Linked DNA regions of Homo sapiens: region 1 is linked to region 2. Evidence: promoter capture Hi-C in human tissues and cell types (Jung and others, 2019). All regions are on one chromosome and are shown on one strand. Each heading gives the region's core, a stretch centred on a gene start or on the middle of the fragment in contact. The rest is flanking DNA. Distances are from core to core; before and after follow the strand shown.

The links. Contacts are between HindIII fragments. The study calls those that stand out against the background at their distance.
Region 1: a contact is called between the fragment with the promoter of SCIMP here and the fragment with the promoter of ZZEF1 in region 2, in 1 of the 25 tissues and cell types used here (small bowel).

Annotation. Positions count from the first base shown.
Region 1 is chr17:5,231,822-5,236,653 of GRCh38, reverse strand. It overlaps SCIMP (SLP adaptor and CSK interacting membrane protein), which reads left to right and starts at 1,794. Exons shown (of 5, transcript NM_207103.3): 1 at 1,794-1,919. The coding sequence starts at 1,899. ZNF594-DT (ZNF594 divergent transcript) reads right to left here. Exons shown (of 6, transcript NR_152840.1): 6 at 651-1,540. RefSeq lists an enhancer at 1,353-1,552. The HindIII fragment of the contact is 19,973 bases long and covers 1-4,832 here.
Region 2 is chr17:4,140,440-4,145,190 of GRCh38, reverse strand. ZZEF1 (zinc finger ZZ-type and EF-hand domain containing 1) reads left to right here and starts at 2,161. Exons shown (of 55, transcript NM_015113.4): 1 at 2,161-2,649. The coding sequence starts at 2,296. It overlaps CYB5D2 (cytochrome b5 domain containing 2), which reads right to left and starts at 1,994. Exons shown (of 4, transcript NM_144611.4): 1 at 1,186-1,994. The coding sequence starts at 1,435. RefSeq lists enhancers at 1,146-1,725, 1,296-1,848, 1,876-2,185, 1,849-2,400 and a silencer at 2,266-2,435. The HindIII fragment of the contact is 20,801 bases long and covers 1-4,751 here.

The DNA.
Region 1 (4,832 bases), core at 545-3,044, 1.1 Mb before region 2:
CTCACTGCAACCTCCGCCTCCCAGGTTCAAGCGATTCTTCTGCCTCAGCCTCCCAAGTAGCTGGGACTACAGGCACCTGCCACCATGCCTGGCTAATTTTTGTATTTTTAGTAGAGACGGGATTTCACCATGTTGGCCAGGCTGGTCTCAAACGCCTGACCTCATGATCCGCCTGCCTTGGCCTCCCAAAGTGCTGGGATTTCAGGCGTGAGCCACTGTGCCCGGCCTAGAAGAAAATTTTAAATTGGCTTTTAGGAAGGTTTTTTAGCAGCTAAACTTTGGATGAGCCTAAGAAGAAAGAGTTCAGGCCTTGGCCAGGTGCAGTGGCTCAACTCTGTAATCCCAGCACTTTGGGAGGCCGAGGCAGGTGGATCACTTGAGGTCAGGAGTTCGAGACCAGCCTGGCCAACATGGTGAAACCCTGTCTCTACTAAAAATACAAAGATTAGCCGGATGCGGTGGCACACACCTGTAGTCCCAGCTACTTGGGAGGCTGAGGCAGGAGAATTGCTTGAACCTGGGAGTCGGAGGTTGCAGTGTGCTGAGATTGAGCCACTGCACTCCAGCCTGGCGACAGAGTGAGACTGCATCTCAAAAAAAAAAAAAAAAAAGAAAGAAAGAAAGAAAAAGAAAAAAGAAATTAGTAAACACTGCAAATCAGGAATCTTCTGAGCCAGATGTTTTGTTTTGTTTGTTTGAGATAGAGTCTTGCTCTGTTGCCCAGGCTGGAGCGCAATGGTGTGATCTTGGCTCACTGCAACCTCCACCTCGCGGGTCCAAGCAATTCTCCCGCCTCAGCCTCCTGAGTAGCTGGGACTACCGGTTCACACCAAAATGCCCAGCTAATTTTTGTATTTTTAGTAGAGATGGGGTTTCACCATGTTGGCCAGGCTGGTCTCGAACTACTGACTTCAGGTGATCCACCCGCCTTGGCCTCCCAAAGTGCTGGGATTACAGGTGTGAGCCACCGCACCCAGCCAGAGCCCGGTGTTTGTTAAATTTACCAGACATATATCAGACATTATCAGATATTTATCAGACATATCTGGTTATCATTATTACTGAAATGGATAACAACTCATTCGCTCTGGGCAAATACAATGCACATCCGTTTGCCTATTTTTACTAATGTGACTGCTCATTTGAGTCAGAACCAGCCAATTCAACAAAATGGCTAATTGGTTTCCCCACTCCAACCCCCATGGTCAGAGGCCGTGGGCCTCGCTGGGAGTTCTGTCTCACAGTATTGCACGAGGGGACCCAACTCAGTCAAAATGCTCCACTGGCCACATTTCTCAAGGTCGCCACTCACACGCCTTTAGAAACAGGAAGCCTGTCCCTTGCCTCCTCCAAGCAGAAGATGTCTCAGCAGTTCCAAGGTGCACAGGAGCTTTCAAGAGTCACCTTCATGGTGAGATGGTGAGTTTGTCACACATGAGCTGGTTTCTTACCTGGATCTGTCTCTGCATGGGAGCTGGCGTCCTGTCGCTCTTCTTGAGACTGAGGTTGCCACATCCAGGAATGCTCACGGCAAACTCGTCTGTGGGGACACCAAACCCACCCCCACTGCCAAGTCTCCACCCTGGCCCCTGGCCCCTGCCAGGACCCCCTACCACACCATGAGGGTCCTCTGGTAGGCCTTGCGGGAGCGACACGGGGCAGTGAGAAGATTCTGGCTTCTGGACAGCCGTGGGTCATGAGCTTCCCTGGAAAAGGGATGGTTGCCTAGAGATGACGCCAGGGTCTCTGCCCCGTGGGCTGACTAGAAAGGGGAAGTGGTCAGGATGGGGCTCACTGTCTCTAGCAGTGGGTGAAGGCCTGTGAGTGAGGAATGCCTCTCACCAGCTGTGCCTGAGCTGCAGCACTCCAGCCACTGCTGTCTCCTTAGCTGCTCACATATGGATACTTTCACAGTTCAGGTAAGCATCTCAGCTTTCCAAGGGACAGTTTCCTGCTCTCTTCACAGCAGACATCTGCCAGCGCTGGCATCAGGGCGTGTCCCTGGGAGCCACCGATCAGCACTGGGCCAGGGGATTGCAGCCTGGGGCCCTGGTACGACTGCTGTGTAGGGTTGGAGAAAAACTTGCATTGAAGGATCTGCTCTACTGGTAACTGGCTGAGTGACCTGAGGCATCACTTCACCTCTCTGGGCCTTTTCCTCATGTGTATGTCAGGGGCGATGAAGAAGTCTACCTCTTGGATTGAAATGAGATAATGACCGGGAGTGAGAGGTCTCAACTGTAACGAGTTACTCTCACTTTCTGGATGCCGATGGTGTGTTTTGGGACTTGTTATGTGAGAAGACTGTCATGGTGCTATGCTGGAGGTGGGGGTGGGAGCGAGGCACTGACTGTGTCAATTTATTTATTTTTATTTTATTTTGAGATGGAGTTTCGCTCTTGTCGCCCAGGCTGGAGTGCAGTGACGTGATCTCGGCTCACTGCAACCACCGCCTCCCGGGTTCAAGCGATTCTCCTGCCTCAGCCTCCTGAGTAGCTGGGATTACAGGCACCCGCCACCACACCTGGCTAATTTCTGTATTTTTAGTAGAGACGGAGTTTCACCATGTTGGCCAGGCTGCTCTCGAACTCCTGACCTCAGGTGATCCGCCCGCCTCGGCCTCCCAAAGTGCTGGGATTACCGTAGCATGAATTTAGGCTACGTCTTGGGGCTCTTGGATGAAAGACCTGGATCACCTCCAGTCTTGGTACCTTTGTCATTGCATCTCTGGCTTTCAGTAGTTCATTAGGCACCTTCCCTTCCAGAGGCCTCGAGATCAAAGTGTGTTGGGCTGGCGTGAGTTCTCGGTGTAGCCATCTGCTTTTGCCCTCTGGAAAATTATTTTGAGAAGAGATCTGGGTTTGGCTTTGCCATATCCACTCCCACTGCCTGGTGTGTCCACTTGTCCCTGAGGTCTTGGCCATGAAGCAATGTGGAGCACAGGCTTCACTCTGCTTCAGTGGTAAATAACTACTGAGAGGCAGGCGGGGCATGGTGGCTCACGCCTCTAATCCCAGCACTTTGGGAGGCCAAGGTGGGCAGATCACAAGGTCAAGAGATCAAGACCAGCCTGGCCAACATGGTGAAACCCTGTCTCTACTACAAATACAAAAATTAGCTGGGCATGGTGGTGGGCGCCTATAGCCCCAGCTACTCGGGAAGCTGAGGCAGGAGAATCGTTTGAGCCCGGGAGGTGGAGGTTGCAGTGAGCCAAGATTATGTCACTGCACTCCAGCCTGGTGACAGAGCAAGACTCCATCTCAAAAACAAACAAACAAACTACTGAGAGGCTTAAAGCAAGGAAGGGACAGGGTCACACTGGTATTTGGCAGCCAGTGGGGAGCCCAGTGGGGGCTAGGGGCCAGCGAAAATGCAATGGTCCAGGTACAGAGATGAGGACTTGGACTACATTTGGAGGCTGATGGGCTGAAGCGGGGTGGGGATGGGGCCATGGGAGAAAGAGGAATGAGGCAAGGTTTCCGGTCTTTTCCAGAAGTGAAAGTATAGAGAAGGGAAGAAGAGAGGCTGGACTCCTTTTAATGACCCTGCCGTGCACTTCCCCATGCACACTTGGGTTTTAAGTTGCCAGTGACTATCCACATGGCCATTTCTGGTGCTGACATCAGTGAGAAGGACAAGTGGAGCGAGGCTCAGTGGCTCACGCCTGTAATCCCAGCACTTTGGGAGGCCGAGGCAGGTGGATCACTTGAGGTCAGGAGTTTGAGACCAGCCAGGCCAACATGGCAAAACCCCATCTCTACTAAAAATACACAAAAATTAGCCGGGTATGGTGGTGCGTGTCGGTAATCCCAGCTACTCAGGAGGCTGACACAGGAGAATAGCTTGAACCAGGAAGTAGAGGTTGCAGTGAGCTGAGATTGCACCAGTGGAGTCTAGCCTGGGTGACAGAGCAAGACGCCATCTCAAAAAAAAAAAAAGAAGAAGAACGAGTGGGAACAAGGCCTCACTTAGCATGAACAGCAACAGTCGGGGAATTAGAGGTGAACTGGGGCAAGAACTGCTCATGCCAACCGGCCTAAATGTTCTCTACAGCCTCTCAGACCCTCGAGATCTAGACTGAGATTAGTTCGAACCCTCATTCCAGGCCTGCCGAAGTCCAAAGCCCTCCCCAGGACTTCTGTGGACTCCCGAGGAGCCCACCTCTTTTTCCATGGTCAGCAATGGGCCTGCAGCCTCTGTGGGTAAAACTGTTTACACTGCGCTGTTTACACTGCACTGTTTGCACTGTTTATACTGTTTATACTGCACTGTTTATACTGCACTGTTTACACTGCACTGTTTATATTCCACCCCTTTCTTAGTCCCCCACACCCCTAGAACAAATCTGCTCACAAAAGAATTGGCAGATGCAGCAGACTTTACCAAAGACTCAGCGGGGGACCACCAGAGGGGCTTGTAACGCATCAGCGCAAACAACTGCACACAGAACATAACACGGCGCTGCTCTGAAAATGTCTTTGCCAGCCCATCCCTGAGCATTTTCTATCAGCTCCTCCTCTTGATACCAAATGAGGCCCATTCTGCTCATCGCACAGTAAGCCAATCACTGAGGTGACCAGTTTTTTTTTTTTGTTTTTGAGACGGAGTCTCGCTCTGTCGCCCAGGCTGGAGTGCAGTGGCGCAATCTCGGCTCACTGCAAGCTCCGCCTCCCGGGTTCACGCCATTCTCCTGCCTCAGCCTCCCGAGTAGCTGGGACTACAGGCGCCTGCCACCATGCCTGGCTAATTTTTTGTATTTTTTAAGTAGAGACAGGGTTTCATTGTGTTAGCCAGGATGGTCTTGATCTCCTGACCTCGTGATCCGCCCGCCT
Region 2 (4,751 bases), core at 912-3,411:
CTAGTAGCTGATCTTAGGCTTGCCCTGCACTTTTTTTTTCTTTTTAAATTTTGGAGGTCAGTCCCGCTGGCTGGCAAGGCAACATCTGTAAAAAAGCACTAGGCTGGCCGGGTGTGGTGGCTCACGCCTGTAATCCCAGCACTTTGGGAGGCCAAGGTGGGCGGATCATAAGGTCAGGAGATCGAGACCATCCTGGCTAACATGGTGAAACCCCGTCTCTACTAAAAATTCAACAAATTAGCCGGGCGTGGTGGTGGGCGCCTGTAGTCCCAGCTATTCGGGAGGCTGAGACAGGAGAATGGCGTGAACCCGGGAGGCAGAGCTTGCAGTGAGCCGAGATCAGGCCACTGCACTCCAGCCTGGGCGACACAGCGAGATTCCATCTTTAAAAAAAAAGCACTAGACTGGTGGTCCGAGTCCATATTCTGTCAGTATTCAGGTGTGAGGGTTTCAGGCAAATCGCATCCTTTAACCCCCTCAGCTGTAACACAGGGACACCAGCATAAACTTAATTTGACAAATGTTTCTTGAGGCCTAACATATGCACAACTTTGGTCTACGTATCAAGGACTGTAAAGGTGACTGGACCCCTTTCCTCTGCCCTAACCTTCTAAGGAAGGCAAACAGGTGCATCTTGTACTAGAAGCAGGAATGACTCAGACCAAATGTACTATATGACGGGCCATAAAGGAATAAAGTATTGATGCATGCTCATAAACCATGGATGAACCTTGAAAACACTATGCTTAGGGGTGGGGGGAAGAAAGATTATTTGGGACCAGGGCATAATGAAGAGATGGTTGGAATTATTAAGGAAACTGTGAGGGTAGGGGCGGGGCGGGATCTCGTTTATCTGTGCCCTAAGAGCCCCCACAAAAGTCCGGCACACAGCCCGTATCCTAGGGCTTCCGACGCTGGGTAATGGGTAACAAGAGACAGAAGACATGTTTCTCCAATGTAAGTCACGCAGGGCGGTGGTGGATGACAGAGCTGGCCCACAGTCCCGCCAGAGCCAGAGAGCCTAGAAGGATAGTGCATGCAGCTCGTCCCGCCCACCGCACGGGTTTGATGGATGTGGGGTGGGGATGGGGGGGGAAATAGATGAATAATGAACCAACGAACGACGCGCAGGTGGCTACTGGCTCGCGCCAGCGGAGAGAAAGGCGTGAGCAGCCTCGCTGATACCTGCGAAGCCGCTATAGTGGGACCCAGGCTCGTAGTGCCTCCGGCCGGAGGACACATCGTAGACACGGCCGAGCAACGCCAAGTACAGGCCCGGGTCCCCTGGGCCGCCGCGGTAGCGAGACAGCTCCTCCGGTATGAAAAGGCGAAAGCCAGCGCGGGGACCCCACCAGCCCATAAGCCGTGCTGCCATTACCGCTGCTGCGGCTACAGCCAGGCCCAACAAAAGCCCACGGCCTCCGCACCTCAACATCTATATAGGCCCACCCGCTCCGCACTTCCGAGGTTGCCGCCTCTATCTACAGCTAAGATGGCCGAGACGCCGAGCGTGACGTCATCGGCGCGCGCGCTCTCGCTCTCTCTCTCGCGCGCTAGTGCTCGCGCTCCCTCCCTTAGTCTCTCTCGTTTTATCTGTATTCCTGGCACTGGCGAAAAGCTCGCTGTCTGCGACTTTTTCCAGGTACTTTTTTTTTTTTTTTCTGAGACAGAGTTTTAGCTCTTGTTGTCCAGGCTGGAGTGCACTGGCGGAATCTCGGCTCACTGCAACCTCCGCCTCCCGGGTTCAAGCGATTCTCCTGCCTCAGCCTCCCAAGTAGCTGGGATTACAGGCACGCGCCCCCACGTCCGGCTAATATTTTGTATTTAGTAGAGACAGGGTTTCACCACGTTGGTCAGGCTGGTCTCGAACTCCTGACCTCAGGTGATCCACCCGTCTCGGCCTCCCAAAGTGCTGGGATTACAGGCGTGAGCCACCGCGCCTGGCCCTTCTCGTACTTCTTGGCTTGCAGGTTGTCAGCCCCAACAAAGATGGCGGCAGCGGAGGCTACGGAATGACGTAGATACTGAGACAGACTCGTCCTCTGGGAAATCAAGGTTGCACCCTTTGAGGCGGCGCTCCCCGCCTAGCTGTCGTGAGTTGGTAGAGGCCGCCTATCTACGTGACGGCGCCTTTGCGACAGCGGTCGTCGCTTGACGGCCAGGAAGCCGGAAGCCGCAGGGGCCGCCGTCGTCTCCTCCGCGTCCCCGCCCGCCAGCTGCTGTCGGAGGTTGACAGGTCGAGGCGGGGAGGCGGCGGCGGCGGCTGCAGAGCCAGGCGCCCAAGACGGAGACCCCATGGGGAACGCTCCGAGTCACAGCAGTGAAGACGAAGCGGCAGCTGCCGGTGGCGAGGGCTGGGGCCCACACCAGGACTGGGCCGCGGTCTCGGGCACGACCCCCGGCCCGGGCGTCGCGGCTCCAGCGCTACCACCCGCCGCGGCGCTGCTGGAGCCGGCCAGGCTGCGAGAGGCTGCTGCAGCGTTGCTGCCCACACCCCCCTGCGAGTCGCTGGTGTCGAGGCATCGCGGCGCGTTGTTTCGCTGGCTGGAAGAGCGGCTGGGCCGCGGCGAAGAGTCTGTCACTCTGGAGCAGTTCCGGGAGCTGCTGGAGGCTCGCGGCGCCGGCTGCTCTAGCGAGCAGTTCGAGGAGGTCAGGGCCGGCAGGCGACTGCGGGGATGGGGCAGGGCGGTCGCCCCCAGGGGACTGAAGGAAGAGGTGGGCATTTGCTTTGGAGAGGCCAGGCGGGGACCCATATGAGGTGTTTCCAGCTTTTCACCAGGCGTTTGCTTCGTTTCTCTTTAACCTATGTTAGAGGTCTGGAAAGTCTGCATCAGGCCGTCCTTGCTCTGAAGAGCTGGACAAGCCCATATGTCTCTCTCTGTATGTTGTAATGCAGACCTTTGTGCAGTTGATTGACGCTACTCTGGAGATCTTCTATCAGATTCTCGAACAGTTTGGAGAGAAAAGAGATGTAAGGATAGGAGGAGTGGCGCTGAGAACCATTTTTTGTATTGTCCTGTCCAGGTTTTTACACAGCACCTTCCCAATTCAGTGTGGGCGCCGAATAAGTGTGGAAAGACAGTAGTAACATGCTGGAAAGGCTCACATTCTAAAACCTATCCTCCTCATGCAAAAACTAGCTTTTCTAAAATACATACTGGTTTGTAGATCCTTAAAGAACCATATATTAGACTCATTTAAACCTTCATAGGATCCGAAACTGATAGGCAAATACCAGGTTTCCTGTGAATACTTGTAATTATGCAGTTCTTCATATAATCACCAAGATCATGTCTGCTAAGTCATTAAGAGAGCAAATTGATTTGGCAACAAAATATTTTCCTTGGAAGGCATTTTGGGAGTTTATTTACTGGGCGCTTCACTTCGAGTTAAGAAGACTGATCCAGGGTTACCCAGTGAATCATTAGTAAAACAGACTATCAACTAGATCTCTTGCTTTTTTTTTTTTTCTTTCTTTCAACTTTTATTTTAAATTCAGGCGTACATGTGCAGGATTTGGATTTGCAGATGTATTACATAGGTAAACGTGTGCCATGGTGGTTTACTCCACACAGCATCCCATCACCCAGGTATTAAGCCCAGCATCCATTAGGTATTCTTCCTGATGCTCTCTCTCCCTCCACCCGCACCCTATTTTTTGTTTTTAATGTCTCACTACCTCCTTCCTGGGATCCTATTTCTTTTAACACCACGGTATGACCAAAAAGGTACTTATTTTGTGAAAATGAGTTAGCCAGTCATGTAGAATCTTCAGTGGCCACGAAGGGTGTGTACATAAAGCAGTAAACCAGCGGGTACTTGCAGTGCCTTTAAAAGGTTCTGTTCACCTTAAAATCAGAGGCTTTTAAAATATTTTAAGAATGTCTTCCTGTACATGGCCAGAATTCAGATAATGTAGTTTGTGTGTTTCTTATGAAAAAAGTACCTTTAAGGCATCCCAACCCTTAAAAATAATAGTCATGGCTGGGCGCAGTGGCTCACGCCTGTAATCCCAGCACTTTGGGAGGCTGAGGCGGGAGGATCATCTGAGGTCAGGAATTCAAGACCAGCCTGGCCAACGTGGTGAAACCCCACCTCTACTAAAAATACAAAAATTAGCTGGGCATGGTGGCGGGTGCCTGTAATCCCAGCTACTTGGGAGGCTGAGGTGGGACAACCGCTTGAACCCAGGAGGCGGAGGTTGCAGTGAGCTGAGATCACGCCACTGCATTCCAGCCTGGGCCTCAGAGCGATACTCTGTCTCAAAAAAAAAAAAAAAAGTCATATTAGTTAGTGAAAGATCTCCTTTTTTTTTCCCCCCAGGAATACACATAGTACCTTCTTTCTAGTATCTACGCGTATTATGAGAATATGAAGTAGTAGTGGGAAGAACCATGCAGAACTGTTGAAGGAGATGGCACTTTGCAGATTTGAGCAAAGGCAAATGGAGAGAAACACCGTTTACATTCTGAGAGTTTCTGACAGAAATAGAACTTTATGTAGAGTTCATAGGAGTCCCTTAATAGAAGGTCAAGAAATACTTGAGGTGTGGTCCAGAAATCACTCAGGGGTTGTGGCATTATTGTTCACTGAGCAAATGTTTATTGGGCGTATATCGAGTGCCACTCACTTGGATGACAGTGGACAAAGCAGATACTTGCTCTTAAAGAGTATGTAGTTGTGGTGGAAGAGACAGGTATTAACCCATTAATTATAAGATATGGTGAGTGTTAACCGAGGGGGAAGGTATA